Linked DNA regions of Homo sapiens: all the other regions are linked to region 4. The links are contacts of gene promoters, found by promoter capture Hi-C in blood cells and fetal thymus (Javierre and others, 2016). All regions are on one chromosome and are shown on one strand. The core of a region is centred on a gene start or on the middle of the fragment in contact, and the rest is flanking DNA. Distances in the headings are between cores, read along the strand shown. Region 1 has its middle 130 kb from the start of CRPPA-AS1. Region 2 overlaps CRPPA (CDP-L-ribitol pyrophosphorylase A). Region 3 has its middle 150 kb from the start of CRPPA-AS1. Region 4 holds the start of MEOX2 (mesenchyme homeobox 2). Region 5 overlaps AGMO (alkylglycerol monooxygenase). Region 6 overlaps AGMO (alkylglycerol monooxygenase).

Region 1 (3,527 bases), core at 318-2,817, 390 kb after region 4:
CTGTGAATATGTGTAACTGCATCATCCCCCCTACACCATCACATACCTGACAGTCAGTGTGCTTATCAGTGATAGTATACAGACGGCAAAGGGGTCTTACAGTGCCATAATCTCATGGAAACATTTTAAAGTATCATTCTCTTAGTAGGTTGCAAGGTGGTTCAGTAGTTTTCTGTCATTCAAAAGCAACAGAAAGGTCTTGCTAACAAATATCATGCATCTCAGAGAAGAAACAGCAATAATGTGAACAAAGTGATTATGGTTAAAATGTACTCTCTCTTCTTAAGGTGGTCATCTGCAGGGGCCTGGAAAGGCTACACAAATTTATGCTTTTATTTTCTAAATATTATATCCATAATAAAGCTGGAAGAGTATTGACTCAGACTGCTTTTTGCTATAAAAGGAGCATTTCCAAATTGGAGAGAACATTCTGCAATGTATTTACATGTAAATATTTGATATACATTTAAATCCAGTTCTATTTACAAATTCTCAGTATCTTGATATCTAAACTCTCTCAATTAATTCCCACTTCCCCACTACAGATCAATTAACTATGCTTTCTCCTCAATCCCTTTAACCTACTTTATTCTCAATAATCTACATACTATGAGTCTGAACCTGGACACCAGTAGATATGGCCTTTCTATCACACTAGAAAAACTATGAGCAAAATCACTTCTACTACTTCGAGAACATATCCATATGTCATTTTAAACATCTACTTAATCTATCCAGAGACTATGGCAATCTTCAGGAAAAAGAAAGTTTATCTTTTGAAACCTCCTCCCTATGATTAGCTCTTACCACAGTTCTCCTATTTGCCATGGCCTGCCCTCCTTGCCATGCTACAGAAGTACAGTTCTTTAACCATGACCTTCTCTCCCTGCTATACAGGGGTAGGGAAGGATTAGAAAAGTAATTCTCAAGGGAATAGGTAGCACAAGGAAGGGAATGGTAGGCAGTTTGCATGCTTAGTATTATAATTTTACATATTGAAAAAATATTCTCATAAGAACTTCAGGAAGCAAACTTCAAAACTTCTCTTTGCTGGTGTATTAGTTTATTATTATTATTATTGCCATAACAAATTACCACAAACCTGGTGGCTTAAAACAATACAAATTTAATTAAATATCTATCATACTATTTGAAATATACCTACTGCACCACTGGGCCGTTGTGAAAAACTATAGAGAAAGCAATTGAATACCATTTGGGTGGTTTTCTTTCATATTTTTGATGGTTATTAACTCATTTCATTTTCTCCTTGTGCTAAACTAAAAATTTCTCAGAGAGACATTATAAATAAAATACAGTGGTCATAAATGTGAGTGACTACAGAAATCAGGCAATAATGAGTGAAGAAGGCAGTGTGTGTTACCTCAAGGGGTAGATGGGCCTGCGGATAATAAGAGTTTGTGCCTGTATTAGTCCATTCTCACACTGCTGTAAGAACTGCCTGAGACTGGATAATTTATAAAGGAAAGAGGCTTAATTGACTCACAGTCAGCATGGCTGGGGAGGCCTCAGGAAACTTACAATCATGGCGGAAAGCAAAGCAGACACCTCCTTCAGAAGGCGGCAAGAAGGAGAAGCGCTGAGTGAAATGGGAAAGAACCCCTTATAAAACCGTCAATCTCGTGAGAACTCACTATCGTGAGAACAGACTGGGGGGAACCACGCCTGTGACTCAATTGCCTCCACCTGGTCTGTGATTCAATTGCCTCCACCTGGGCTATGATTCAATTGCCTCCACCTGGGCTATGATTCAATTGCCTCCACCTGGTCTCTCCCTTGACCTGTAGGGATTATGGGGATTACAATTCAAGATGAGATTTGGATGGGGACAAAAAACCTGACCATATCAGTGCCGCTTCTTAAAAGGCTAGCTACTCTTCAGGTTGAGGTCACTTGCCTTGAAGGAAAAAGATCCCCTGGCCGGGCGCATTGGCACATGCCTGTAATCCCAGCAGTTTGAGAGGCAAAGGTAGGAGGGTCGCTTGAAACCAGCCTGGCGACACGGCAAAACCTTGTCTCTATAAAAAATACAAAAATTAGCCAGGTGTAATGACAGGCTCCTGTAGTCCCAGACACTTGGGAGCCTGAGGTGGGAGGATCATTTGAGCTCCAGGAGGTTGAGGCTTCAGAGAGCTGAGATCACACCAGTGCACTCCAGCCTGTGTGACAGAACAGACAGTGTTTCAGTAAAAGAAAAAGGCCCGTCATTGCTAGATGGCTGCATTTTTATGAAATGCCCCAATTTGCAAATGTAAACACCTATTTTGTATTTTTAACACAGATCTGACAACAGATCTGTGGGCTAAATCCAGCTGGAGGGCTTCTAGTTCCTATAAAGCTAAATGTTACAAACTTCTGTCACTCAACACAATAATGCTCTTATATGAGAGAGAGAAAAGACATAGTCACGTATTAAGAGTTGTACTAACCAGCACTATTACTTGAGTTAATATTTTCAAGCATTTCTCCATTTTTATTAGTCATAAACTACTATTACTATCAAAGTGTAAGTCAAATCCTTTTGAAAACAATCTTAACATGAAACAGAGGCAAGATTTTGTGATTATCACAGTAAGATCATTCTGGTCACTGCTGAGAGCCTGAACATCATGAGACATTGATAGTAAGCAAATGCTGAATGCCTTGCTTTAAATGCCAATAAAGCACAAGAATAAGCATAATTCACAACTTTTGTGACAACATCTGAAAATCACACATACATAACACATCAATGTATGCGTATGTTTAGATGTATACAGATTTTGTTTCCCTGCTGAATGCATCTCAGTGGACATGCCGAAGTCCAAAGACAAAAAACCCATTCTACCACCAGGTGGAGCTTAGTTTCCATTAAAGCAGCAGATACATGAAGAGGATTTCTAGTGTTTGTTTGAATTCTTTGTGTCCCTCAGGAAAGACCTGAAGAAAAAAGGTGAACTTCAAAGGAGAGTGTGTATTTTAAAAGCCTGTCACAAACGCCAGTTGCCACAGGGCTTTAAGTATTTTTCATCAGTACTCATTTGATCAGGTGCTGGGGGCCATTCATGAATGGCTTGACAACTGACTTCCTTCCTTTCTGTCCTTTTCCCTTTCTTTGTATGAGAATGTTAAATTCCCATACATTTAAGTGCCCAACTTTAAATAAAAATCACAGATTATCACAATAACAGAGCCTAAGAAGTAAAATTACCAAAACAAATCAGCTATATTATGTAAATATTGACTCTAATTCACAATATTATGTAAATATTGTGAATTTTTACATATTATGTAAATATTTACATATTTTACACAGTATTTTACAAATATTTACATATTTTACATATTATGTAAATATTTACATATTGTGTAAATATTTACATATTGTGTAAATATTTACATATTGTGTAAATATTTACATATTGTGTAAATATTTACATATTATGTAAATATTGTGAATTTTATTGTAAATAATTCACATTATGTAAATATTGATTCTAATTCACACAGCAGAACATTAGATGAAA
Region 2 (3,213 bases), core at 227-2,726, 410 kb after region 4:
GGTCTTGGACAGTAACATATGCATGTCTATAATCCTTGAAAGAAGAGCCTCCTAACATTCTCCCCAGCTGTCATGCTGAGAGCTTTTTTCCAATCTACAAAGAAGAGAAACAGAACCCAAGGAGAGCATAGCAATCTCTCTGGGTAGAAAAGACATAGATTAACAATTTAAAGCTGTCAAAGTGGCTTGTATTTCTGCAGGCAGCATGCCTGACAGGAAGGAATTGCTGAGAACTCCTAAAAATCTGCTAAAAATTCCTTCAGTCCTTGGCCAGCTCCTAACTGTGCATGCCCAAGGAGAAACTCAACGAGGCCTAGCAGAGAATAACTGCTGGAAAGTTGGAGAGCTGAGGAGAGATTTTTGAGGCCCCACTGTGCCAAGGAGCAGGAGGTTAAATCTGAGTCCAGCTAGAATGAAGACGCCTTGGTGAACACCCATGGCTTTCAGCTGGGATATCTGAAAAGCCATGACTACAGCCTGGGTATAAGGCAAAACTGAATCCGACCAGCCCTAAGAAAGCTTCAACAACGTCCACAGGATCAAATTGATTCAGCAATACAACTGCTTGCTAGAACAAATTTCATATTCCTTAGAGGACATTAAAATAATCTTGAGCTTTTATAATGTTTTGCACTCAAAGTGTGGTATCAAATATCACTAGATAGGCAAAGAAGCAGAAAGCAAAGATGCAGAAAAAAAAACACCCATAATCAGGAGAAAAAAATAATTTAAGCAGACCCAGAAATGAGACATACATTGGAATCATCATGCAAGGATTTCAAAATAACTATGCCTAAGACACTAAAAAATAGAACTAGAGATAAAAATGTTGATGAAAAATGGAAATTTTCAACATAGAATCTATAATAAAGAGAATTTTACAATTATAAAATGCTTGAAATTAAGAATTAATTGGACTAGTTTTATAATGAATAGGCAGAGCAGAACACAGTACAAGCAATCTTGAAGATAGTAAAAAAAAAATTTGTTTTATCATCTTGTTCACTTCATAACAGTGTCAATTTTGTTTTAGAAAATTTTGTTGCCCAGGGTAGAGTGCAGGTTGCCCAGGTTGATCTCAAACTCCTAGGCTTAAGCAATCCTTCTACCTCATCCTCCCAAAGTACCAGGCTTATAGGTGTGAACTATTACAGCCAGCTTCACTCTTTTTCTTGGTTACAACTATATTATAGCAAAAATAGAGACCAGCTAAAAAGGGGGAAAACAGTATACTCTTCAGTAGTCCGCTTTCTTAACATACTGGGCGGGAAAATATAAACATGTTGACAGAAGTTATTTTTGGATGATGGCTTTATGACAATATTATTTCTTCTTTCTGCTTTGCTATATTTTCAAAACCCCCACAATGAACACATTTTATTCTTGGAGGAAAAACAAATTATTTTAAAATTTAGTTTTAAGACTGTTAAATTCAGGGAGCTAAACTTGATTTGTTGTCATAGAAAATCAATAGTACTGAACGTTGTCCAAATTCCGGGAGCATTTCTCTCCATAAATATTTTCAAAATCTATACAAAGAAAACCTTTTTTGCTTGAAAATTCAAGGCTTCAGTAAAAGGCCCCTAAAGGAATCATATTAATAATTCACAAAGTCTTAGCTTTCTTCTTAGATATTAAGAAAACTATCTAAAAGTAATAACAAAAAAAGTGTACTTAATTTTACCCAGCATGTAACAATTGTTCACTGAGATCTTAAAGAGTTTCATAATAGCTGTGTTTTAAGACTATTAGAAGACAAAAACGCAATATAATATATGCATTTTTAATTTTCTAAATTATCAGACTGAATTATTTAGGATTAAAATTCACCATGAGTTTTACCTAGAAACTTATATTTAGCTATTTCTCTACCACCTATAATTTCAAGTTTAGGATGAAATACACCATGTTTGGGTGAAAGATGCACAAAAGAAGAGCTCTAATTACCATTATCTTTTAAACATACAAGGTAATTCTAAATTTAGTCATAGTAATGAAGTCGTGTCAATAAAGTCCCACATGCCAGTCTTTGTGTGCGTTTGTCTTTTTGTTGTTGACTTGGTTCTTTTGTGATGACTATATCCAGCATCAAGTGAAGTCTTGATGAAACTTTGATGGGACTCCTAAGCCTTTGGCAAACTTGTGGGAAATCAGGAAAAGCAGGAGATTTTCACAGAAGATTGGAAATGACAGTGGCACCTCTATAACTCATAGTGGCTCTTCAGTTACATCCTTCTCCACCTCCCACCTCAAAATTTGAGCAAGGAAAGGCTGAAGTAATGTAAATTACTAATATGTAGCACCTTGCAAGTGTATAAGTGGTCAACTTTATATGATGCCCATGTCCTCAAAAATCCTTACTTACTAACTGTCCCTTTCAATTTTCTCAAAGGATAACTTCGGGAGAAACTATTCCCAGAGTACTTAATATTGACAAGCTTTTTTAAAAAGTATATTTTGAAACAATAAATCCCATAATTGAACTACACACATATCAGCATTTGAATTTAAAAAGTGTAAACAAACTTATAGTAGGCTGTTAGAATCAAATTTATGTGGATTTGGTGGAATGCCATCTCAAAGAATAGCAGGAAAAGCTATGATGTAATTCTCCTCTAAATCTTTATGGACAAGCTGAAAGGAAATCTCTTGGAGATACCTATCCTCTATACACATCACTTCTAAAGAACACAATGTACTCTGCTAAAAGGAAAACTATAAAGTTAAAATGTATGCATATGTATTTAGGCTTTAGATGTCTCAAGAGATTACACAATGTTTCTTTAAGGGTAAACATTTACATTGTCTCAGCAAATTCCATACCTAAAACCTAATTCAATTTCCATGAGTTACAAAATCTCCTGAAATTCAGGTTGCTCATAGTTTGATATTAATACCCTTCTTCCATCCTTGTTTTGGAGAACTTATGCAAAAATTATTATTTAAATGTCACAAAATTTCAAACACTAAACAAAAATGTACTAGCTATATTTACATCTAGTCATAAATATACACATCCCTATCTCTGTACCATATACAATATACAAAAACCACAAGTGTTAGACTTACTAAACCTTCAACAGACTTGTTATAAGATCATTAATATCAAATCAAAATAATTTGAAGCTAAATTTTCTTTTTGTAAACATTTTGCTGATATGGAAGAAAAAACCTAACGGGGGCACACTGTCCCCTAGTGGAGATGAAAATAAC
Region 3 (3,588 bases), core at 916-3,415, 370 kb after region 4:
AAACAAAACTCTCAGCTAACTTAGAGGGAAACCTCATTGTCCTGATAAAAAGCATATATGTCTAACCTACATGCAAAATCAATCAAAAATCATACTTCATACAACCAAAATCATAGTTAATAATGAAAGACTAATACCTACCCATTATAATTGAAAAAAAGACAAGGATATTCTCTCAAACAAATTTTATTTAACATTGTGCTGGAAGCTCCAGCCAGTACAACAACACATAAATGTATACATACATATATGCATTAAAATATATACACATTGAAGAGGAGAAAGTAAATCTGTCTGTATTTGCCAACCATCTGGCCATCTATGTAGAAAATCCTATGGAATCTACTCCTCTACCTCAAAAAAACTACCACAACTACCAAGTAAAATAGGAAGACTACAGGACATAAGTTCAATATACAAAAATCTATAGTATTTCTGTATGTGAATGACAAATAATTAGATTAAAAGTTTTTAAAATAATACCATTTACAACATGACCAATAAAGTGGAATACTTAGAGATAAATTTTAAAAATTATGTTGAAGACTTCTACATTGAAAATTACAAAATAATGCATAAAAAAAGCACTAAATACATGAAAAGATATACTATTGCGTGAGTCAGAAGACTCAGTATTGTTAAAATGTCAATTCTGTCAGTTTGATTTTTAAATTCAACTCAATTTGAATTTGATAGGCTTTTTAAAATAAAAATTAATAAGTTGATTTTGAGATTTATATGCAAATACAATAATAAACCTTTGAAAATGAAGAACAAGTTTGAATGACTTATACTACATGATTTCTAGACTTGCTTTAATGGTACAATAACCAAGACAACACAGTATTGGTATAAGATCAACGGAAGAGAAGAGTCTAGAAATGGACCTCTACACATGTGGTTAATTTTTAACAAATATACCAAGATAATGCAATATTAAAAGGTGAAAGATTTATGTGTTCTGAAGAGAAACCAGAGAATCCAAGATAATGCAATAGGAAAAGGGTAATAAAAGAAAAACTTTTGACAAATTAAATTTAGCAGAGTCTTAACTGAGAAAAAAAAAATGATTTGCAAATCAGGCAGCTCTCAGAACCAGAACATGCTTAGAGAAACTGGGGTTGCTGCATGGTTGCATAATATTTCTGAGCAGAAAAAGAAAAGTGACGTACAGAAAATGGAAGTGAGATACAGAAACTGCTGATTTGGTTACAGCTCAGCAGTTGCTTTATTTGAACACAGTTTGAACAGTTGCTTGTCTGTGATTGGCTGAGGCACAGCTGCTGTGGTTGACTGAGGCTCACCTATTTTTACAGACACATACTCCTAAGTTGGGTTTTCAGTTTATTTATGTGCTAAGTTAGGTTGCAATTCATGAGAATTGAAGTATGCAAGTAAAAAGGCTTTCTCAGGCCAAATTTAGTTTAACAATAGTTGTATTAGTCCATTTTCACACTGCGATAAAGAACTGCCTGAGTAATTTATAAAGGGTAATTTGTAAAGGAAAGAGGTTTAATTAACTCACAGTTCAGCATGGCTAGGGAGGCCTCAGGAAACTTACAGTGATGGTGGAAGGTGAAGGGGAAGCAAGGCACCTTCTTCACAAGGTGGCAGGAAGAAGTGCCAAGCAAAGGGGAAAGAGCCCCTTATATCAGATCTTGTGAGCGCTCTCTCACTATCACAAGAACAGCATGGGGGAAACTGCCGCCATGATTCAATTACCTCCACCTGATCTCTCCCTGGACACATGGGGATTATTGGGATTACAACAATTCAAGTTGAGATTTGGGTGGGAACACCAAGCTTAACTGTATCACTAGTCTTTCTAACAAAAGTGTGCTGAACAATTGAATATATAAGGGAAAAATTCACCGTAACCCTTATCCTATGGCATATACAAAATTTATTTTGAAAAACATTATCAAAATAAAAGTTAAATATAAAACTTCTAAAGAAAATATAGGGAAAGACCTTCACAAGCTGTGGTCAGGAAAAGATTCCTTGGAGCAGAAAAAGTAAAAACAGTAACAGAAAAATTAATTGATAATTGAATTTTAAAATATTTATTCATCACTAGACATCATCAAAAAAATAAAAGGTAAGCCGTAGACTTGGAAAAAAATGTAAAACATATAATTAGTAAAAGACTTGTATGCAGAATATATAAAGAATATAAGCAACATGATAGAAAATAAGAAAAACTATCTGGACATGTTATACACACACGCACACACACACACACACACACACACACACACACACAAAATGAGATATCACTATCATCCTCTGGAATGGCTAAAATTATAAAGATTGGTCATACAAAAAATTAATGAGGATGTAAAGCAGCTGGGACTCTCATACATTTCTAATGGGAATGTGAAATGGTATAACCACTTTGGAAAACGTTCTGGTACTTTCTGATAAAGTTAAACATAAACAAATCACCCAGAAATCTCACTGCTTCATATTTACCCAAGAAAAATGAAAACATACATCCCCACCAAAGATTCGTAAGCCAACGTTTATAGAAGCTTTACTTACAGGAGCCAAAAATGGGAAACAACGCAAATGTCCACTCTTCATTTAATGTATAATAAATTATGTTTTATCTATGTAATGGAATGCTATATAGCAACAAGATGGAATGAACTACTAATATGAACAATGTGGTTGAATCTCAAAAGCACTCTATGTGAAAGAAGCAGACATAGAAGGCTACAGACTTCATGATACCATTTTACATAAAATTTTAGAAAAGATACAAGTGTAGTGACAGAAGAAGATCAGTGTTTTCCCAGGGGCTGGATTGGAGAAAGGGTTGGTGACAAAGCAGCATGAGAGAATGGAATTGTTGGAAATGGAAATTATCTATATCTTGATGCAGTGGTGATTATATGACTATACACATTTTCAAACTCATTAATTTATGCTTTTAACATTGATGACTATACTCCATGCAATTATACTTCAACAAAACCAGTATTTTTAAACCAGTGGCAAAAGAATAATCAGGTGAAAGCAAGTCAACCCCTTAACATGATTCCATTTTGAGCCAATTTAAATGGAAAAAAAAATGAAGAAATCATTAAATACCAAGCATTAGAGAATATGTGGCTAAATGCAGTATTTTGTGCATTACAAGTGGAAGTATCTTCTGGTTGCAATACATTAGAAAACATTTTTGTATTAACTTTTGAAATTGGATAACCGTATACTCCATAGCCAATAATTTTACCATATTGAGCATATTCAAGTTAACTCTTACAAATATGAATCATAAAACATGTTTAACAATATTCATTTTAGCACTCTTTGTAATATAAAATAATGAAACTATTAAATGTATATCACCAGGATGACAAGTTATAGTATATTCACACAAGGGAGAATTATACTATAGTAAAAATCAGTTTATCAAAGCCACATGTGCCAACATTGAATGAATGTTAGAAACATAAGAAAAATAGTCTCAAAAGATTATATACTGTGTGATACCCTTTTTATAAAACTCAAAAACAAAACTGATATTAGTTTTCTAATCCTTGGTTATTGTTGTGAGAGTTCATTATATTAATAATATAAATATAT
Region 4 (3,200 bases), core at 598-3,097:
TTAAAGTATCTTTTAACAATTTTATAAAAATACAGGTAGGTAAGAGCTTTGAAAACTTGTCTGGAAACTTTGAGTTTCTCTGGATTGCTACAATTTATTCGGCACGTTGTGCCTTCAAGCACCAGAGGTCAGGAAGGTTCCCCTTTTGCATGGCTGCTCAAATTATCCCCACTGAAATCAGCGCCTCCTGCGCGCACCCTTGCATACCCCTTTAGACACGTATCTAACTAACAGTACCCGAGTTGCTGTTGCTTCGCAGTATTTGTCTCTACTAATACCCACTTGGTAGAGGGATTTATTTTCCACTTTTGAAACTTAGGTTCTGTAATTAGCTTACACCACATGGACATGTACTATTAAGGTTCGTCTTTCTTCCAGTGTGAGCATCTATTTATTTACAATTCTCTGACACATTCCTTAAAATCTGAATTCCTAGATAATGTCTTCTTCCCCAATAAAGGGAAAATTTTACCATTTGAAATAGGGTGCTATTTAAAGAACGCTGAAATAAGAATGTTAAAAAAAAAAAACTGAAACTTTTTTTTCTCATGCGCTCTGCCAAGTTCCATTGCAAGTTCCAAACATTGTGCAATAATTTGGAAATCCAGTTAACGATGGGAAAAATCGAGCCACTCAGAGTCGGCAACTTGCAAGAGAAAAGTCAAGAAGCGGCACCCGCACGCACGCCTGCCCAACGGACGCTGCATCCCTGGGCGCACGCCCCTCCCTCCCCAGCGCTGGGATGGAAGGTCACGCTTCACAATCGATTTCACAGCCACTTGTCCTTTTTTATCAACCTTCTGGTAAACTAGTTTAGGACTTTGGAGGGCTTAGAGCTGCTGGCTGTATACGCATTGCTCTCGAATAAACACGTGTCCCCAAATATCAGGACCAAAGCTTCACCGCCGAATTTGGCCGCAGGAAGCCACAGAGGGCAACACATTCCCATCTTCCCTGCTGCCACCCTCCAGTGCGAGAATCTCCCCTAGTATCTCTCCGCCCCTTTTCCAGCCCGGCGCGCACTCTCGAGGGTGCCTGGCGCGCCCTTACCTGAGCTGTCGCTTTTCCTCTTGCCGCCGCTTCGCTTCTCCGCCTCCGCAGGTGACAGTGCCTGGCGGCCGTAGTCCCCCGGCGCGCACGCGGCCCCAGTCGGGGTGCTGGAGCCCAAGCTGGAAGAGTTGGAGCACAGGACGGGCGGGCTGCTCCCCAACTCTGGGGGCCCTCCAGAGTCGGGCTGGAGGCAGAGGCTGTGCCGAGCCGCACTCGGTGGGGAAGACATCTGCGGGAGGTGCCAGTTGGTTTGCAGAGCCTGGTGCTGCTGCTGCTGATGGTGGTGATGGTGGTGGTGGTGGTGGTGGTGGTGGTGCCCCCTGTGATGCTGGCTGGCAAACATGCCCTCTTCGTTGGGGTATCCCGCGATTATGCAAGATGAGGAAGAAGTAGAGAGCTCGGGGTAAGACATATGGTCAGATCTTCCATGGAGGGCGAGAGAGGATTGGGAGAACGGGTGCAAGCCTTGCGCCGTGGCGTGAGGGCTGCGCAGGCAGCCAAAGAGCGGGTGTTCCATAGCATGCAAGTTTCGGGTTCCAGGCAGAAGACTTCACGGCGGTTCCAAAGGCCACCACCCTCTGTCACTTTTTCACTGGAAACCGTGTGATTTTTTTTTTAACCTCCCAAAGCAATAGCGGTGCACTTCTGCAGAGCTCGGATAATCCCGGTCCTGAGCCCCAGCGGCCAGTCTCCTTTACATATGAACAGTCGGACCTGGAAGAGCTTCCCTGAGCTACTCAGATGTCAAGAGTGGGAGAGGTTGAAGCCAAAAGAAGGTGGTCCCAGAGAACTGCTTTCAGGGGGAAATGGCTCTGAGAAGTTATAAATAGAGTGTAACGTGAGCTGGGGGCTGGCTTAGGAGCCCAGAGTTGACCACATGCAAACTCCCTCCAAAACTCCCGCTCAGCCTGCGCCACGCGCTCCCAGTTCCACTTCCTATCTCCTGCTGGACGGACGTAGAGCGTCCACGCCCGCCCAGCACTGCCGGCTGCCAGGACTACAAGCGGCACGCCAACGTCTAAGTCCCGCCCGGGAGGGCAGCAGCTCTGCCCTCCAGACTCTGGAGGCCTGGGCGCGGCGCACACCACCCCCAACCTAGCACCCTGATTCCTACCTACTCACTTTCCTCTCGGGGAAACGTGACTTGTCAGTGTCATTTGGGAACTGTCACCTGCAGAAAAGCTAGGGATACGCCTATCCTTTCAGGAACACGAAAGAAGTAATAGGGTTAAAGGAAAAGACCAGAGCTAGTTTGGCGCACCCTCGAAGTTTTTCAAACTTTGCATCTTCCCGTGCCCCGGGCGCCGCAGCGCGCCTAGGTTTTCGCAGCTGGTTTCTGTCGGTGGGTTGTTAATAGGCTGGGACGCCAGATCTGAGGTTGCGGGGATGAGCACCATGGCCTGGAAAAGGCGGTTCTCAGTGCAGAAAGAAGACGGACCTGGTTGGGTGGGTGGGAGGAAGGCGTGAGTCTGAAAGGGTTGCAGATGCCTGCTCCCTGGCATCCTCACGTGCGATGCCAGGTGGAGGCTCCCTTCCCCCTCTTTCCCGGTCCCGCTCAATTTCCTAGCCACTTGTCCACCAAGAAGAACTTTTCCTGGGTCAAGAATATTTCCAAGCGATTGTGTCCCGGTCATATGAGATGTGTAGATTGCACGCGCATTTCTAGCCTTTCCCCTCAGGAGCTAGCCCAGATCTCCTCGGTTTCCTCCAGAAATCCACTCTCTTCTGCTCAAAAATAAATCCGCTAATGCATTCCTTACCACCAGGGTTCCATTTACTGAGAATTCTTACATTTCGATAGCTCCCAAAATTCACTCACCGTGGGCACTTGGTTACAATTTTGCACCCCTGAAAATAAAATAGAAAACTCGCCTCTAGTAAGCATGCGAGAGCGAGGGCAGGGCTTTGAAGCTGCTACTTGCTTGGCGGGCGACAGGGTCCGCTGGGGGCAGAGTCGTTTACACACAAGTGAGTGGCGCTGTAATGAGCAGGAGGAACAGTCATGTCCCATCTGCGACCTGTCGCATCAGGAGAATATCTGTAGTCACCTATTCTGCCCGGGGCCCCAAATGCGCCACCAGCAGTGTCGCCCCGTTTTTTCATTGTCTCAGGTGTCCAGAGGATGATGACCAGGTCTTTGAAGTTGTTAG
Region 5 (3,271 bases), core at 486-2,985, 360 kb before region 4:
ATAATTTTGCTTATTGAATAATCACCATGAGCAGTTACAATTTGCCCTAAGAAAACATTTCCAATAGTAATTAATTCTGACTGTTTAACTTTTTGTTTGTATATTTATATTGTTTATTTTTGTTAATACATTGATATAAAAGAATTGGAAGAAGTCAGACAAAGAAAAAAATAACCAGCATAGAGAGATCCCATCACCTTCCTTTCAAGGGGGATAAAAGATAAAGTGTGAGGAGAAATACAGTGTATACAATAAATATGTCATATGGAGATGGTAGGAGGGATATTGTCAACATTATACTTTTCATTTGAGTTTTGTCTTACAATTTCATGCTACAGAAGACTGCTAAAATTTTATCTAGGTAGGTCACTAAAACACTCCCAATTTCTTATAATATTTAGACAGAAAATAACGCGCTGATTCTCATATGATTCCAAGCTGTCTCCCGAGCTTGCAGTGCATGACTTTTGCCAGAGCAAAGGGCTATGGGATGGAAAAGACTGCCTCCTGACTCTGGGCTTCAGAGCAGCTTTGCAGCTGTTAACAAGGAAAGCCTCGTGGTATTGTGCTAGATGATTTCATGACTTTCTAATCATTTTTAAATTGTGAAATTATCAAAACAGACACGAGATGTTGCCAAATCTGTGTTTCTTTGCTTTCAGCTTGTTTTAACTGCAAGCAAGGGTTTGAAACGTCAATGTTCTTGCTACTACCTCAGAGTAAGCCACATTTAAAACTCAAGCTTGCCGCAGACATTTCTATTTTGAAACTGTGGCTTTCTTTAAAACTGTAATTTGTATTAAAGTGCATATTTATGTAATTGTTCTATATACTACCATATGTTGCTGTAACAATGTATTAGAGATACAAGCGTAGTAAAAATAAGACTACTTTAAGCCAATGTTTCCATCAGACAATCATCAGTATTACTCCAGCGCAGCAACCCAACACTCAGCTAATACAAACTGGCCTTCAGACCAGGCTCTGCTCACTCACTTTCACAAAGAGGCAGTAATAATAATGGTGTGTGCCATAGTTGAGACAGAAAACTGCATCAGTATCTCAGACTTTTAGACGTTGGTATCAGGCAACCCTGTCCCCACGTGTTTGTCTCCCAATCCTGTAAGTTCCAGATCCCAAGGTCAGCTCTCCTAGTTGCTGATGTTCTATCTTTTAAAGCGCCCATCTTGGGTTATTCCTACTATTACAGTAGGATCTCTCAAGGCATTTTCTTTATAAGCTTTGGTTTCTTGTTCTTATTTAGATGTCCTGAAGTGCCTTCTTGATTTCTTTTTTTCTCTGGCTTCAGACCCCTACATGGCCAGAGGCCCCAGGGTTTTGCCTTTCTTCTCCCCCTCATCTCCCTCACTCCTGAGGTCTGTCCTCTAATGTAGTGGCCCCCAACCTTTTTGACACCAGGAACATGTTTCATGGAAGGCAATTTTCCCACAGATGGTGGGGGGCGGTGTCGGGGAGAAGATACGGTTTCAGGAAGAAACTGTTCCACCTCAGATCATCAGGCATTAGATTCTCACAAGGACTGCGCAATCTAGATCCCTCTGATGTGCATTTCACAATAGAGTTCGAGCTCCCATGAGAATCTAATGTCACCACTGATCTGACAGGAGGCAGAGCCCAGGCAGTAATGCTTATTTGCCTGCTGCTCACCTCCTGCTGTGTGGTCCGGTTCCTAATAGGCCACCAACCAGTCCGTGGTTGGGGAGTTGGGGACCCCAGCTCTAGTGAATCTCTGTAGGCCACTCCAAACCAAAGTAAAATTAAAAATTAAAAAAAAATTTTTGAGTTTAAAAAATTCAAATACCTAACATTTTTAACATGCTTTGAAAACCCCTCAGGAAGCCCTGTAATTGTTTCTTATTGGTAAGTAACATTTGAATAAAAAGAACTTTGTTTATTATACCTGATTTTAATTTCACGTTTTGAGAAATATATACTGGATAGATAGATTTAGTTTCATGCAGTCATGTTTAAATTATATATCCAAATTAACTTGCATTATATATCTGCATCGTGACTTTACTTGGAAGGCATTAAAGGCTAATAAATAGTATTCACTATATCAAATATGTACTTTCACACATATCTAAATAATTATATATTAGCATTTCTACATTTAATAATTTTATTTGTAAAATTTAATACATAATATTATCTGCAATTATTTAATCAGTGAGCGTTCAAGGGCATGTCAGATTAAGATTAACCTTAAAAAGCTTATTTTTAATTATTTTCCGTTGTTTTTTAAACAAACTTCTCTCACAAAATTTACATCCAAGCTAACTGGTGAAGAATAAAACATTACACACCTATACATGCACACATACAAAAGGACTCTATTTCAACAGCACATCAGGCCTTTAAAATATAAACAATCAAAAAGGAAAATGGTTGAAACAGAAAAAATAACTCAAAACTTTAAAAGAAATGTCATGTAAAAAGCAAAATGCTTAAACTGAAAATATAGCATTGTACCTTATCAGCTCACATTTTACTTTTGAGTCATCCAAATTTTGTCATCCAATTATTTTTGAACCCTGTATATTAATTTTTCATTAGGATTATCTTAATAGGAAGTTTTATTATTTTTGCTTTTATACAACATTTTACTATAGCAATTTATGACATCTTGACTTGGTTGTTCGCAATTTGTTTCTGTCCCCTTTAATGACAAAAAGAAGAGGAAGAAGACGGAGGAGGAGGAGGAGAGGGAGAGCAAGAGGAAGAAACAAACCAAAGAATAAAAAAAGTTTATAAATGAGCAGTCACTGCAGTAACTAAGCCAAGTTTTATAAAGCAGAGGAAATATTCTCATTAGAAGCAGTGCTAAATTAAATAATAGATACAGGTTTTTTTTAAACTGGGATATTACTCTTAGAAAAAATATAAAACTTAATTTATGATCTCCTCAAGACACACATTCTATTTATTAAATACATTTGAATTAAAGGGGGGGTTAAGGAAAATGATAAAACTTACAGTTAACTTTTACCACTAGATGGAGCCCAGGCATCTATATGGCAAAACTCCCACTGTGTTTACATTTGGCTGTATTTGATTACTTACTGAAAATGACATATAATCAGTTTAACCTGAAAGGGGTAAGGGATGATAGGTGTTTTTTAGAATATAGCGTCTTGGCAAAATGTAAATTGATGAAAAGTGAACATGACTTCTCTTTAGAATCCTCCCTCCTGAATACAGATCTTCCATCACATAAAATACACAGACCTCTTAACTTTTGTGCCTGCCT
Region 6 (3,483 bases), core at 956-3,455, 380 kb before region 4:
ACAGATTGCATCCTTCAATATCTACTTTAATTAACCGACTGCCATTACTCACTTTACATTTCCTTTCACATCACATTGTACTCATCTTAAATGGAATCAAAACTTTGACATGCACTGACATTGACTTCATTAAATGCAACGTTTTGACATTTTTGAAGGTCTTTTTTTATTTCATACTAATAAATGGAAAGGGTTTTGAATTTCAATGGCTGAAAGGAAGTCAGATTTTAGTTATATGAATCCAGGGTAACTTCATTCATGGATCAAAAAGACCCCTTGGGGCTTACAAAATCTTTATTATTTTCAAGCTACAAAAAAATAGTTTGGTAGAGAACTGGATAATAGGAAACATATTCTTCTGCAATCAATGCACTTTGGGGTGGTTTCCAGCTGTGAGACAGTCACTCAAACTTAAAAGTTCTCCAAAGTTCTCCTTGGCCTGGAGCCCAATTTCACTTATAACAGAATATGACTGTGTAAAAAAAAAAAAGCATTACAAAATATGGCAATTTGTGTTACCTTGCTAAAAAGTTAATATGGTTTATGGCACTATTAAGGATTGTTAATGCTTCAAATAGTTAGATTTTAATGTTTAGAATTAGCACAATTTAAGTTTTCACCTACTATTTTAGATTGTACTAGTTCTTATAGGCTGAGGAATATGTCCCTAAACTAAGATTTCTACTTTATTATGCTAAGTATGCCACATTGGAAAGGGCTGTTGGAGAAACATAAATTATTCAGTTAGTGTATAAAATATTATTACAATAAGTTATAATCATAACAGAGGTAATGAACTCTTTGTATAAAATAGTTTGCAATATTAAATGCATACGTTACAATCATGAGAAATAATCATTAAAGCATACTGAATTTTGGTGAATTTTAATATAGAAAGTTGTACAAAGATCTACACTTAAAATTATTCAAAAACGAAATAATTATAAAGTGATTCCAAAAAATAAGTTTCCATTTGTAATTTTGCAGTTCACCCATCACTAATAGGACAAATCTACTAGTAATGATGATGACATTCATATATTACAATATCTTATTATCCAGTCTAGTTATCTAGTTGTTAACAGTCTTGTGAGAGGTGAGGACATAATTTATATTCCCTTATGACAGACTGTTCTGCGGCCATAAAACGTGGGAATCCTTGTTTGACATGACTTGTCTTCAAAAGCCAAGCCCATCTATTTGGAAGAAACCTTGAATCACCAATTTTATCACATGGTAAAAAGTTAAAATAGGCATTTACCATTACTTATAAATATAGTTCAAAATATTTAATCTAAAAGTGACAGTGCCAGTGGTGAATAAAACTTTATTTAGATGGGCTAATCAATTAAACTCTAAAAGAACAGGACTCTAGTTGATTTGTTTTAAAACTAGTAAGGATGTTCTGAAATAAATCAGTAAAGTATACTAGTTTTTTTTTTCTTATGAAGCCTATAAGAAGGACACTATAATTACCTAATCATATAATTGTATTAAAGCAAGGAACAATAAAACATTTCCCAAGGTGATTGCTTCTATGCATATAGTTTCAATTACTATCTTCAAACTGACACTCAAATTTACACCTCCAGCTCTCACCTAGTTTCCTAAGTTACAGATTTGCAACTGAGATTTGGATATCTCACAGTAAACATGCCCACAAACAAACTCAGTATCTCTCCTTTCAGATCTTTGCCTTTTCCTGGGTCTCCATCTCAGTGCAAATATGGACTCACCAATTCAGAAATTTACAAGACTAAATAAGACCCATACCTCCTTCATATCCCACCTCTGAGCAATCAGTAAACAAGTGTGATGGAGTTTTTATTTTATGTCTCTCTCTTGTCAATCCTATTAGTTCCTAACGCCTAATGGTTTGACCTAACTCTATTCTCTCCCCACTTTCTAAATACCTGGAATTTCCCCACAAGCTTCAATACCTCCAGGCTTGCTGGTCCTCACTACACCCCTTCAGTTTTCCATCCATTACCCACAGGCTGCCAGGAAACATTTCCAAAAGAGCAAATCTATTTATGTCATTTCTTTATTTAAAGTATGTCTGTTCTAATTTCAGAATGGAGTAAATTCTGCTTATCCTGTATGTTCATCCCTTAACAATCAGACTTTTACCCCTCACACAAGCACCATCAATCCAAATCCTTGGTTACTCTCTGAATATAAATAATTTGTTATAAATTTGCATATTTTTTCCTATTTAAAAATTTATCCTTGTTCCTTTCACTACTGACCTTACCCCCACACTTCTTTTTTAAGGTTTTGCTCATTCACCTCATTTGAGAAGACTTTTCTGACCTGCCAATGTCAGATTTCACCTCTATACTCTTACAGCGTTTGCTTACTATCTACCTACATCATGGTGTTTTTCACTATGCACAGTAACTGTTTGTTGTCTCATTTGCTTGTATTAACTCATTTGCTTGTCATATTTGCTTGTCTCATTTGTTTGTCTCAATTTACTGTAAGCTTTCTAAAAACAAGATTTATGCCTTTAAATTATTTTTCACCAGAGCAATGTTTCACCAAAATGTTAAACAATGAAACCACTTAAAACTTTTCTGTAACCAAAGCTCTTGGATTTTCCTGTATCTGTTGATATATTATTACAGCACATATAATGAAAATATAACAACTAATGTGTTATGTTTTATAATTCTCAAAGGCCTTCACATAACTCTTGGAAGCCACCAGTGTTTTTTACATATTGTGGATAAAGAAACAAAGTTTCGCAATGGTTAAATAATTTACCTAAACACATTCAGTCAATGTATGGTAAAACAGATTCAATCCAATTTGTTAGACTTCAAAGTCCAGACTTGTGGTTGGTCAAATGGAGTGATTTGGTTTGAATTCACAACTTAAACGCTTACTATTTGTTAATGGTAAGCAACTTTACTACTCATGCAATTATCCCAAGTATTCAGGCACTGGGCTGAAACCATTTGCTCCATCAGCCACATCAAGCAATAGTTCATCAGCAATAGTTCCTTAGACTAGTTATTCATTAAACACTCAGTATGAAAGAGACATGGCCTTTATAGGAAGACAAGCCCTGCTAAAAATCCTTTGGGGGAACATCTTAATTGCAACTACAGGCACACGTAATGAAGAACTATCGTTATCCTTACTGAGCAGTTTTACAGACAGGCAAGCTGAGTAGGGCCAACATTTTTTTTCCATAGGAGTACATCTCCAAATTTTTGAGTAGGTACCAATAAAAAAGATGATCAGCAGAGGGGAAATACTTTATACATTCTTAACAGCTCTCTGTGTTGTGAGAATCTTCAAATGTATCAAAAGAGTTATAAAACAAACTTTCTGGGTGGGATAAAACTAAGCCAACTTTGAAGTCCAGTGCCCTATTGAAATGTACTTTTCTCCATTTCCCCTAAGCGTCAACATAAGATCTCATCTAGCCAATGTAAGTCAGGTGTTGTTTTCATTGAATTTTATTTTTAAAGAGAT

Evidence for each region. The method cuts DNA at HindIII sites, captures the fragments that hold promoters and counts their contacts. A CHiCAGO score of 5 or more calls a contact.
Region 1: a contact is called between a fragment that was not itself captured here and the fragment with the promoter of MEOX2 in region 4, in 1 of 17 cell types (endothelial precursors). The highest score is 6.6, in endothelial precursors.
Region 2: a fragment that was not itself captured here is called in contact with the fragment with the promoter of MEOX2 in region 4 in 1 of 17 cell types (endothelial precursors); the score reaches 5.3 in endothelial precursors.
Region 3: a contact is called between a fragment that was not itself captured here and the fragment with the promoter of MEOX2 in region 4, in 2 of 17 cell types (endothelial precursors and M2 macrophages). The highest score is 5.8, in endothelial precursors.
Region 5: a contact is called between a fragment that was not itself captured here and the fragment with the promoter of MEOX2 in region 4, in 3 of 17 cell types (megakaryocytes, endothelial precursors and M2 macrophages). The highest score is 6.3, in megakaryocytes.
Region 6: a fragment that was not itself captured here is called in contact with the fragment with the promoter of MEOX2 in region 4 in 1 of 17 cell types (endothelial precursors); the score reaches 5.9 in endothelial precursors.

What each region holds. Positions count from the first base shown.
Region 1 is chr7:16,075,405-16,078,931 of GRCh38, forward strand. No RefSeq gene overlaps it. Among named protein-coding and RNA genes, the nearest start is that of CRPPA-AS1, 130 kb to the right of the region's middle. RefSeq lists enhancers at 1,199-2,398, 2,725-3,259. The HindIII fragment of the contact is 6,394 bases long and covers 1-3,527 here.
Region 2 is chr7:16,095,587-16,098,799 of GRCh38, forward strand. All of the region lies in intron 9 of CRPPA (CDP-L-ribitol pyrophosphorylase A), which reads right to left. Among named protein-coding and RNA genes, the nearest start is that of CRPPA-AS1, 110 kb to the right of the region's middle. The HindIII fragment of the contact is 1,919 bases long and covers 518-2,436 here.
Region 3 is chr7:16,054,572-16,058,159 of GRCh38, forward strand. No RefSeq gene overlaps it. Among named protein-coding and RNA genes, the nearest start is that of CRPPA-AS1, 150 kb to the right of the region's middle. The HindIII fragment of the contact is 728 bases long and covers 1,802-2,529 here.
Region 4 is chr7:15,684,836-15,688,035 of GRCh38, forward strand. It overlaps MEOX2 (mesenchyme homeobox 2), which reads right to left and starts at 1,848. Exons shown (of 3, transcript NM_005924.5): 1 at 1,051-1,848. The coding sequence starts at 1,567. RefSeq lists an enhancer at 212-1,044. The HindIII fragment of the contact is 6,486 bases long and covers 896-3,200 here.
Region 5 is chr7:15,323,212-15,326,482 of GRCh38, forward strand. The region is part of intron 12 of AGMO (alkylglycerol monooxygenase); the gene reads right to left. Among named protein-coding and RNA genes, the nearest start is that of AGMO, 240 kb to the right of the region's middle. The HindIII fragment of the contact is 994 bases long and covers 1,239-2,232 here.
Region 6 is chr7:15,306,094-15,309,576 of GRCh38, forward strand. The region is part of intron 12 of AGMO (alkylglycerol monooxygenase); the gene reads right to left. The region is part of intron 1 of LOC124901592 (a long non-coding RNA gene); the gene reads left to right. Among named protein-coding and RNA genes, the nearest start is that of AGMO, 250 kb to the right of the region's middle. The HindIII fragment of the contact is 553 bases long and covers 1,930-2,482 here.